Linked DNA regions of Homo sapiens: region 1 is linked to region 2. The links are contacts of gene promoters, found by promoter capture Hi-C in human tissues and cell types (Jung and others, 2019). All regions are on one chromosome and are shown on one strand. Each heading gives the region's core, a stretch centred on a gene start or on the middle of the fragment in contact. The rest is flanking DNA. Distances are from core to core; before and after follow the strand shown. Region 1 overlaps ZNF33A (zinc finger protein 33A). Region 2 holds the start of ZNF33A (zinc finger protein 33A).

Region 1 (4,940 bases), core at 2,124-4,623, 47 kb before region 2:
TCTTCTCATCAGCACCTGGACCATGGGCCACCATGCATGTGCATCTTGACACTCTTAGGGGTCAGGAAAGCATGTGTGGTGGCAGCAAGTGAAGGAGCAGCACAGGAAAGGGATGCAGGTACTACCCTTCCTGAATGCCTTGTTAGGCAACTGGAGTGCCACACTCACCTCCCTCAGTTGTCTCCTGCCTTTCCACAAACCTCACAATAGGCCATCTGCATGCCCAAGCCAGGGGTGTGCAGTAACAAACAATAGTCTGTAGGGATGTTCCATGCAGCCAGTGATGATAATCAGAGAGCTCCAGCCAGACCTTTGGAAAGTGGGGCTCAAATGCTGATCAGTTCGTCACTGTACAGTGACTGTCAAGTGCTGTACAGTGTGGTCACTACCTGTACAGGTGGGAGCCTCAGAGACCACCTGCCAAACAGGCTGAGCCCAAGTCAAGTCATGAAGGGATACAGCCAATGGGTGAGCACTCTTGTCCTGTGCACAACAGCATTTTAGAATGGGAAGAGATGCGACACTCACCTCCCCCAAGAAAAGTGCATTACAGCACAGGCCAAGTGCAAACCTGCCAGCAACTGGTGGTTCTGTCCAAGAAGCCTTTGCCATAATATGGAACCTGTCAGTTAGCTAAGAGCAGTTAGTTAAAATTGGACTGGATGACCCTGGCTTCGGATGGGCCATCCTGTTTATGCCAATGGTTGTAACTGCTTCCTTTTCACCCTGATGGTGAAGGAAGGATCCCCACCCCAATGCTATAGAAAGGTTGAACACTGAACGCCTGACACTGGACAGATAAGATCTAGGTGAGTTTGTCAGTCACACCAACTCTCAGAAAGGTGAGAAGGACACCACATGCTGGGAAGAGCCACACAGGGTTCGACTAGGGAGCAGAGTGGAAAAGGAGGGGTTGTGGCGAGCAGCTGTATTATCCAGAGTACAGTGACCACTGTTTGCTGTGGGAGGATGTGAGGGGTTTGGTGATAATTCCAAGAGCTGGCAGGGAAGCAAATCTTACTACTTAGGAATAAGCAGGAATTGTGCCTGGCCCCCCTGACAAGGAGGACTGTCTGCTAAGTTACCTCACCTGTGGAAGCAGAGTGGGGATGGAAATGAGGTTAGGTCATTTGAGGCCCTATTGGCTTCAGATGTCAAGAGAACCAAAAATACTAGTCCTTAATTTCAGGTCACAGTTACCATAATTTAAAATATATTAAGGATGTACAAAAGCAATTCAATTGTTCACTAATGATGATTTACATGTTCAGTCAGAAACATACAACTAACAAAAGAACACCTTAGTACAGAAACAAGATGTTCCTCAGGGTTGGTTGGTTGGTTATTTATTTACTTGATACACTTCATTTTTTAGAGTAGCTTTAGGGTTACAGAAAGTTGAGCAAAAAGTATAGAGAATTCTCATATAACCCTTTCCCCTCCCATCTTCCACAGGCTCCCCAATCATTAACATCTTGCATCATTATGGTTCATTTGTTACAATTAATGAGCCAACAGTGATACATTATTATTAACTGAAGTCCAGAGTTGACATTAGGGTTTACTCTGTGTTTTCCGTTCACTGTTTTCCATTCTCTGCGTTTTGACAAATTACAGTACCCTAGAGAGTACTTTCACTGCCTTAAAAATCACCTCTCTACCTGCCATCCCTCCTTTCCCCTCAACTCTCAGCAACCACTGGTCCTTTCACTGGCTCAATAGTTTTGCCTCTCCCAAAATGTCATATAATTGCAATCATACAAAATAGAAAGCCTTTTCAGATTGGTTTTCACTTAACAATAAGCATTTAGGGTTTCTCCGTGTCTTTTAATGACTTGATGTCCAATTCCTTTTTATCATCTACCTGAGGACTGTATCCTGCAATCCTGCTGTAATTGCTTATTAATGTCAGCAGGGTTTTTGTTATTTAGAATTCTCTACAAAGACAATCATGTTACTTGTGAACAAAGTTGTATTTCATCCTTTCAAATCTATGTGCATTTTATTTCTTTTTTTTTTAACACTGCATTATATAGCACTTCCAGTACAATGCTGAAAAGCAGTGGTGTGGTGTTCCTTGCCATGTTCCTGATCTTAGTAGGAAAGTGTCTAGTTGGAAACATCAAGGATAATGTTAGCTGTAGGGTTTTTTGTAGTATGTTCTTTACCAACTTGAGTAAGTTCTCCTGTATTCCTTCTGTGTTGAGAGGTTTTAACATGAATGGATATTGGATTTTGTCAAATGCTTTTTCTGTACCTATTGATATGATCGTATTTCATCTTTGAGCTGCTAATGCATGCAATGGATTACACTGAATATCAAATGTTGAACAAGCCTTGCATTCCTGATTTGCTAATATTTTGAGGATTTCTGCATCTGTGTTCAATGGAAATATTGATCTGTAGTTTTCCTTTCTTGTAATATCTTTGCCTGGTTTTGCTATTAGGGTAATACTGGCCTCACAAAATGAGTTGGGAAGTGTTATCTCTGCTTTTATTTTCTGAAAGAGATGGTAGAGACTTGGTATCATTTCTACCTTAAGTATCTCAAAAACACATCAGTGAACCCAGCTGGTCCTGGCACTTTGTTTTGGAAAGTTTCATTATTATTTTTTGAGATGCAGTCTCATTCTGTCACCCAGGCTGCAGTACAGTGGCACAATCTCAGCTCACTGCAACATCCACCTCCCAGGTTCAAGTGATTCTTCTGCCTCAGCCTCCTGAGTAGCTTCGACTACACACGCATGCCACCATGCCCAGCTAATTTTTTGTATTTTTAGTAGATAGGGGGTTTCACCATGTTGACCAGGCTGGTCTCGAACTCCTGACCTTGTGATCCACCCGCCTCAGCCTCCCAAAGTGAAGTGCTGGGATTACAGGCATGAACCACTGTACCTGGCCTTGGAAGGTTATTAATTACTGCTTTGGTTTATTTAATAGATACATATGCCTATTGAGGTCTATCTTGTGTGAGCTTTGAGAGAATGCGTCTTGCAAGGAATTGGTCCATTTTAGCTAAGTTATCAAATTTATGGACAGAGTTGTCCATGTTTCTTTCTAATCCTTTTGGTGACCATAGGATTAGCTGTGATGGCCTCTTTCATTTTTGGTATTAGCAATATTTGTCTTCTGTTTGTTCTTAAGCTAGCTAGAGGTTTATCAATTTTACTGACCTTTTCAAGGAACCAGTTTTGGGTTTTATCGATTTTCTCTTTTCAATTTCAATGATTTTTACTCTAATGTTTTTTCAGGTTACTTTGGATTTAATTTGCTCTTCTTTTTCTAGTTTCCTAAAGTGGAAGCTTAGATTACTTGTGTAATCTAGGATCACTAGACTGTATAATCTTAGATTATTTGTATGATCTGATCATGTAATATAGTGTACAATCTTCACACTATCAATAAAAGCCCCACACCAGCTTGATTCTGGTTCTGCTCCAGCCTCAACCCTCCTCTTCATATTCTCAAAAGTCTGAGGGCCCAGATCCCTGTCTGGGGACAATGAGCCTTGAAATGACAGTCCAACAGCCCTGGGCAGCCCTGGGCTGTATGTGTGGGCCTTTCCAGGGCCCTGTCTTGGAGAGCAGCTGCTTAAAGAAAATTTGGACTACCACTTATGCTGAAGGCTGGAATGTTCACATATGTACCCTAGGCACTTCATGGCATGGCATGAGCCACAGGTAGGAAGAGAAAGGGAGTAACATGGAGGCGAGCCTAGATCTTCACATGTACAGGATAGATTTTTTTTAGATAATTTGTTATTTTGATTTATACCTTTTAAATGGATAAACATTAGCTCTGTGGGTCTCCTTTTAAATTGTTTCAGGACATCACAAACATCTGGGATGGGCCTGATAATGTAACCACTACTAAACTAGGATACCTACTTCCTATTCACAATTACGTTAAATTCCATTATGCATATGAAACACACGATTTATATCACATACCACTTATACATATATAAGTCTTTTGAACTTCAGGGATAATTCGCAGATGTGCTTAATGCTATTGCCCTGATTATTCAATTTATCTGTGCTTTAAAAAAACTTCATAGTCAAGTGGATGCAAGGGATAGGGTTGCAGAAAGCGTGTGGTTATTAATACAAAAAGGGAACTACTTGAGGCTAAATCCTTTGTAATCCTGATACAGTACAGATCTCAGATTCCTTTTCAGTTCTGTAAACTAATCGTGTTGATGGTTACTCAAATGTAAAAGTCGTAAAAGTTTGATATAACCACACACACACACATACACGTACACACACACACAGAGTGCATGCAAACCATAGTAAAATCTGACTAAGTCTCTATCTACCAGCAAGGTAACATCGATTTCTTGGACTTGACCATATACTATGATTATACATTATCCTTAGAGGAAGTTTGGTGAAGTGTACATGGGAATTCTCTCTACTCATTAAACTTCTTGTGAGGTTATTTTAATTATTACCTTTGTTTAAGTTCTTAAAGCTTTACATTCCACAATATACATCTATAAATTATTGTTAGGTGCCCTAAAAACTATTATGGCATCAAACTCAAAACATAACTTGTCGTATTTTATTTCTAAGCAAAATTTTCACTTTAGATTTCTTAAATTGACAATTTTCTCCTCAGTGTAAATTCTAACATAACCTTATTTGCATTTTTGCCAAAAACTTTCACAAATTCAAAAAAAATCTGTAAGGTGTTATGCCCGTATTAACCATCTGATATTACATAGAATATCACTTCCTAACAAAAGCTGTCCTATAATTGTTGTAGTCTATGGGTTTATCCCCTACTATTACTTTGGAGTAACATAAGGTGAGTTTGTGGATAGTTACTGAACATTCAGGATGTCATCAGGGCTTTCTCCACAGTGTGAATACTCTGAGGCATTATGGAGGCTGACTTGTGGCTGGAAATTTCTAATATCCATTTCATTCATAAGGTTT
Region 2 (5,540 bases), core at 2,258-4,757:
TAATTTCAGCTACTTGGGAGACTTAGCCAGGAGAATCCCTTGGGCCCTGAAGGCAGAGGCTGCAGTGAGCCAAGATCGCACACTGCACCCTAGCCTGGGTGACAGTGAGACTCTCTCCAAAAAAAAAAAAAAAAAAAAAAAAAAAATCAGACATCATTAAATTTGGGGCTTTGCAGGCCAAAATGTTCCTGTCACAACTATTCAACTCTGCCACTGAAGCCAGATACTGTGGCTTATATGTAAATGAATGAATGAGCAGGGAGGTGTCAGGATTGTGAGGGGGACAAGACGGCAGCTTCAGGAGTGCTGGCAATGTTTGTTTTGACCTGTGTATTCATTATTTGTGCCACGGATTTGTAATAATTCATTAAGTTCTATATTTAAAATTTAGGGGGTTGTGTATCTATCTGCTACACATGTAGAAATAAGATTCATTAAAAATTAAAATACACAATCCTAGCACTTTGGGAGGCCAAGGTGGGGGATCACGAGGTCAGGAGACTGAGACCAGCCTGGCCAACATGGTGAAACCCCGTCTCTACTAAAAATACAAAAATTAGCTGGGTATGGTGGTGCGTGCCTATAATCCCAGCTACTCGGGAGGTTGAGGCAGGAGAATCACTTTAACCAAGGAGTCGAGGCAGGAGAATCACTTGAACCAGGGAGTCGGAGGTTGCAGTGAGCCAAGATCACACCACTGTGCTACAGCCTGGTGACAGAGCAAGACTCTGTATCAAAAAAAATAATAATAATAAAATACATTTTAATTTACCGGCTGGGTGCAGTGGCTCACGCCTGTAATCCCAGCACTTTGGGAGGCTGAGGAGAGCAGATCACGAGGTCAAGATATCAAGACCATCCTGGCCAACACGGTAAAACCCCGTCTCTACTAAAAATACAAAAATTAGCCAGGTGTGGTGGCGCATGCCTGTAGTCCCAGCTACTCGGGAGGCTGAGGCAAGAGAATCGCTTGAACCCGGGAGGCAGAAGTTTCAGTGAGCCAAGATCGCGCCACTGTACTCCAGAATGGCAAGAGAGCAAGATTCCGTCTCAAAAAAATAAAAAAATTAAAATTAAAATACATTTTAATTTACTGATCAAACACTACATCCAAAAGAAAACTGGAACCTGTGTGAAATAAAAATTAAAAAAGCAGTTTGACTCAATAGGCTGCACTCATTTCAGGGTTATCACTGGAAGCTTATTCACTATGGGTCCCTATGTTATGACCAAAAAAGGTATCTGCCAGGAAGTCTTTGTGCCTTCAGAGGAGTCAGTCTGTCTGTATCCAGTGTCTTCCTTTCTGCCATGGTTGTTGGAAACGTAAGAAACATACGAAGCTCAACTTATTGACTCTAACTTGGCCCTGCTATTGATCTGTTACTTTATATTTTCTGGGAAGTTCAATTTTTATCTATTACTAACTTCTCATCTTAACATATTGACTCTTGGCCAGACACGGTGCCTCACGCTTGTAATCCCAGCACTTTGGGAGACCAAGGCGGGCGGATTGACTGAGCTCAGGAGTTTGCGACCAGCCTAGGCAACACGGTGAAACCCTGTCTCTATTAAAACGCAAAAAATTAGCCAGGCGTGGCAGCATGCGCCTGCAGTCCCAGCTACTCGGGGGGCTGAGGCAGGAGAATTGCTTGAACCCGGGAGGCAGAGGTTGCAGTGAACCGAGATGGGGACATTGTACTCCAGCCTGGGTGACAGAGTGAGACTCCGTCTCACAAAAAAAAAAAAAAAAAAAAAACAAACACCATATCGACTCTTACAAATCTCACAAAGTCCACTGCAAAATAAAGTAGGGAATTAATAAACAACTTACCTTGTTCATTTTGTTCTGTTCTTGGAAAGACGGAGACAACTCTGAAGATACAGCTGAGTTAGAAAAAGAGGAATGGGGTCATGAAAGATTTGGCCTGCCTGGCAACTCCTGGATTCTTCCGCCCTAAGAAGCCATACACACCCACTAGGTAAAATGCTTCCTCTGGGAGAGTATCAATGTCCTCTGACACTTTGGAATAGGGGGTAGAAATGGTGGAAGAACACTTCGGAATAGGCGGTAGAAATGGTGAAAGAATAACTCCAACATAATTATGTAGCTCTTGGGCACAAGATTTTTTACCGGGTGAAAGTAAATATTTGCTTCCTAAGGATTTCAATCTCCCTCGGTGTTCACAAAAAAAAGTATAATGACAATATTGGCCAAACAAGTTAACAATATATTTAATGAAGGAACATTAACACTAAAACCATTGTAAAAAATAGGACTAAGCTATCTATTTTCCCAGTAATGTTACTTAACCTCTGGTGAGTGACTCCACAGAAAGCCATAAGCGGCAGTGCTTCAAAGAAAAAATCAGTTTTAATTTCTTCATCTAACTTTGTTGCTATTTCTCAAAGGGATATTTTAAACTTGCTTTGATGTGTGTGGAAAAGTAGACAGTACTGGCTTAGGGGTCAGGAGATGTGACTTAGTCTTCCCTACTAACTGTGATCCTGAACAAGTCAGTGACCTTAACAAACAAAAAAACAAAAAAAATCTTTTTCTTCTAACAAATGAGGCAAAATTAGGTAATTCTTTGTTTTTGTTTTTTTTTGAGACGGAGTTTCGCTCTTGTTGCCCAGTCTGGAGTGCAATAGTGCGATCTTGGCTACCTGTAACCTCCGCCTCCCGGGTTCAAGCAATTTTCCGCCTCAGTAGCTGGGATTACAGGCATGCGCCACCACGCCCGGCTACTTTTCGTATTTTTAGTAGAGACGGGGTTTCACCATGTTGGTCAGGCTGGTCTCGAATTTCTGACCTCAGGTGATCCACCCGCCTCGGCCTCCCAAAGTGCTGGGATTACAGGCGAGAGCCACCGCGCCAGGCCAAAATTAGGTAATTCTTGAAGATCTTTCCTGAGTGCAAGATCAAGTCAGGACAGAGGAACAGCAAATACCAAGATGCAGTGATGGACCTGACTGGAGGTCAGTTCGGAACCTAAAGAGGATGAATGCAATACGTGCAACCGAGTCTGCCGGTCTGGCGGGCGACTGCACCCGCCTTTCCCCGCCCACGTACCGCGGCGCCCTAGCACACGCGCACAGGCTAGACAAGAGAACTGCCCCTCCCGCAAGGCTCAGCGCGCGGACTGCGCAAGCGCACATGCCCTCCTCCGCGGCCCCCACAAATGGGGCGACACACGCTGCGTACCCTGCTCCGTACAGAGGCCGCGCCTTTGAGGAACCGGCCTAGCGTCGTGGCCCACACGCTGCAGCCCCGCCGTCCCCGCCTTCCCCTATGAGGTCCCCGGGCCTCCTCCCCACCACTTGGTACCGGCCCCCTGCCGCCCGCCCCAGGAGTCGCGCGGGGCTCCCTCTCTCTCCCTGCCCAACCCACTGGGGCTTACCCCACTCCCTCGTCGGGTTGCATTCGCCATAGAAAAGCGCGTAGACCCTTGAAATCCCGGGACCGCCTCCCACGCAAAACCTGAGAAAAACAAAAGGAAAGGCGGAAACGCAGACGTAGCCGGCGGACGAGGCATGCGCAGAGCCCACGCGCACAGCTTGATGCTGTTGGCGCCCTACCTGGAAACTACCTTTCCCGTGAGGCCGGGCGAGCAGCCCTTCGGATTGGTAGAGAAGTGCCCCGCTAGGCAGTGGGCAGATGCGGTCTGAGTTGGTGCTGGAACTGCCTGCAGCCCTGGCTTTCCCCGGGGCACTCCAAAGGGATATACTGCGGGGGAGGTCTGTGGGCAGTTTAGACGCAGACGCTCAAGGAAAGGACCGCTGCGTGTCATTTTCCGTTTAAATGTTAGGAAATAGATCTCGTCCATACAGTTTAAAAGACTTTCATGCTATCAGCGGTTCTTTGGGAGCGGGGGAAAAAAGGGGAAGGTGCGGCCGGAAAGCTACTTCATCAAAATGGTTAAAGCAATAAACGGAAATTGTAGCTCAGTAAGGAACTAGACATAATCTGAAAGAAGAAAATAAATGTCACGTATGATTTCCTCTGTGACATTAAAATTGCTTGACTAAATGGAAATACTTTTAGTCTATCTGTACCTTTCTTAGGAAGACAAAATTCCTAAAAGAATATCAACAAATTTTTGTTATGTATTTTTTCTCTTTGATCTTTAGTGTATTCTGTACTTCACAAAAGCATTCTCAACTTTATCTAGAATAAGTAAAAACCCAAATGAACAGCCAGTATACATTTTAAAAAGCAGGAAAAAAATGCCTAAGGAATATCTGTATCTATCTACATCTATCTATATAATATTGCTCTATTCAAAGTAGTTTGGCACCTGCTCCATGGAAATAAGACAGCTTAAGAGTATTCTTTAATGTGTAGTAGATACAGCATTTCAAAACAGTGAGGGAAAGAATGGAGTATTCCAAAGAGCATGTCATTCCGAGCAATTTGGAATGTAGAGATATACATAGATCACACATGATAAAATCTCACATGTATACAATACTTAAACATTTAAACCACTAAAAGAGTAAAAATTTTTGAAAATTGACAAGTGGACCAGGCACAGTGGCCCACACCTGTAACCCCAGCACTTTGGGAGGCGGAGGCAGGAGGACCACTTGATCCTTGGAGTTCAAGACCAGCCTGGGCACTATAGTGGGACCCCCATCTCTACAAAAAACTAAAAATAACAATTAGCCTGGCATGTAGGCAGGCACCTGTGATCCCAGCTACTCAGGAGGCTGAGGTTGGAGGATCACTTGAGCCCCGGGCTGCAGTAAGCCATCATGGCACCACTGCACTCCAGCATGGGTGACAAAGTGAGACCTTGTCTCAAAAAAAACAACAAGGGATGTGATGCCAAAGACAGAAACTATAAATTTAATATCAGTCACATTTTATAATAGAGAAAAATAAGCAACTCCATTCCAGCAAAACTTTTTAAGTCCATTATGAGAATTGAAAGTAATGCAAATATGGCCAGGCGTGGTGGCTCACGCCTGTAATCCCAGCATTTTGGGAGGCTGAGGCGGGTAGATCATGAGGTCAAGAGATCGAGACTATCCTGCCCAACATGGTGAAACCCCTTCTGTACTAAAAATACAAAAATTAGGTGGGGCGTTGTGGTGCACACCTGTAGTCTCAGCTACTCAGGAGGCTGAGGCAGGAGAATCGTTTGAACCCAGGATGGGGAGGTTGCAGTGAGCCAAGATTGCGCTACTGCACTCCAACCTGGTGACAGAGCGACACTGCGTCTCAAAAAAAAAAAAAAAGAAAGAAATGCAAATATTTGAGTAAAAATACGTGAAACATTTATTGAAATTTACATTTTTTAATTTATGCTTTATATACTGAAAAGTTCTTTATTTGATGCATAATTTTATGAGTTTTGACAATGCATAGATTTGTGTAACCACCACTACAAGCAAGACACAAAATTGTTTCATCTCTGTCAATAAAATTCCTCCATGCTACCTTTTTAAAGTCAGATTCTCTCACCACTCTTAGCCTCTTGCAACCGCTATCTATTCTTTGGGCCTATATGTTTGCCTTTTTTAGGATATTATATAAATGG

Evidence for each region. Contacts are between HindIII fragments. The study calls those that stand out against the background at their distance.
Region 1: a fragment that was not itself captured here is called in contact with the fragment with the promoter of ZNF33A in region 2 in 3 of the 25 tissues and cell types used here (dorsolateral prefrontal cortex, mesendoderm cells and thymus).

Annotation. Positions count from the first base shown.
Region 1 is chr10:38,056,446-38,061,385 of GRCh38, reverse strand. It overlaps ZNF33A (zinc finger protein 33A), which reads right to left. Exons shown (of 5, transcript NM_006954.2): 5 at 1,299-4,940. The coding sequence ends at 4,826. Among named protein-coding and RNA genes, the nearest start is that of ZNF37A, 35 kb to the left of the region's middle. The HindIII fragment of the contact is 5,674 bases long and covers 537-4,940 here.
Region 2 is chr10:38,008,642-38,014,181 of GRCh38, reverse strand. It overlaps ZNF33A (zinc finger protein 33A), which reads right to left and starts at 3,507. Exons shown (of 5, transcript NM_006954.2): 1 at 3,399-3,507; 2 at 1,832-1,884. The coding sequence starts at 1,840. RefSeq lists an enhancer at 2,805-2,984. The HindIII fragment of the contact is 9,281 bases long and covers 1-5,540 here.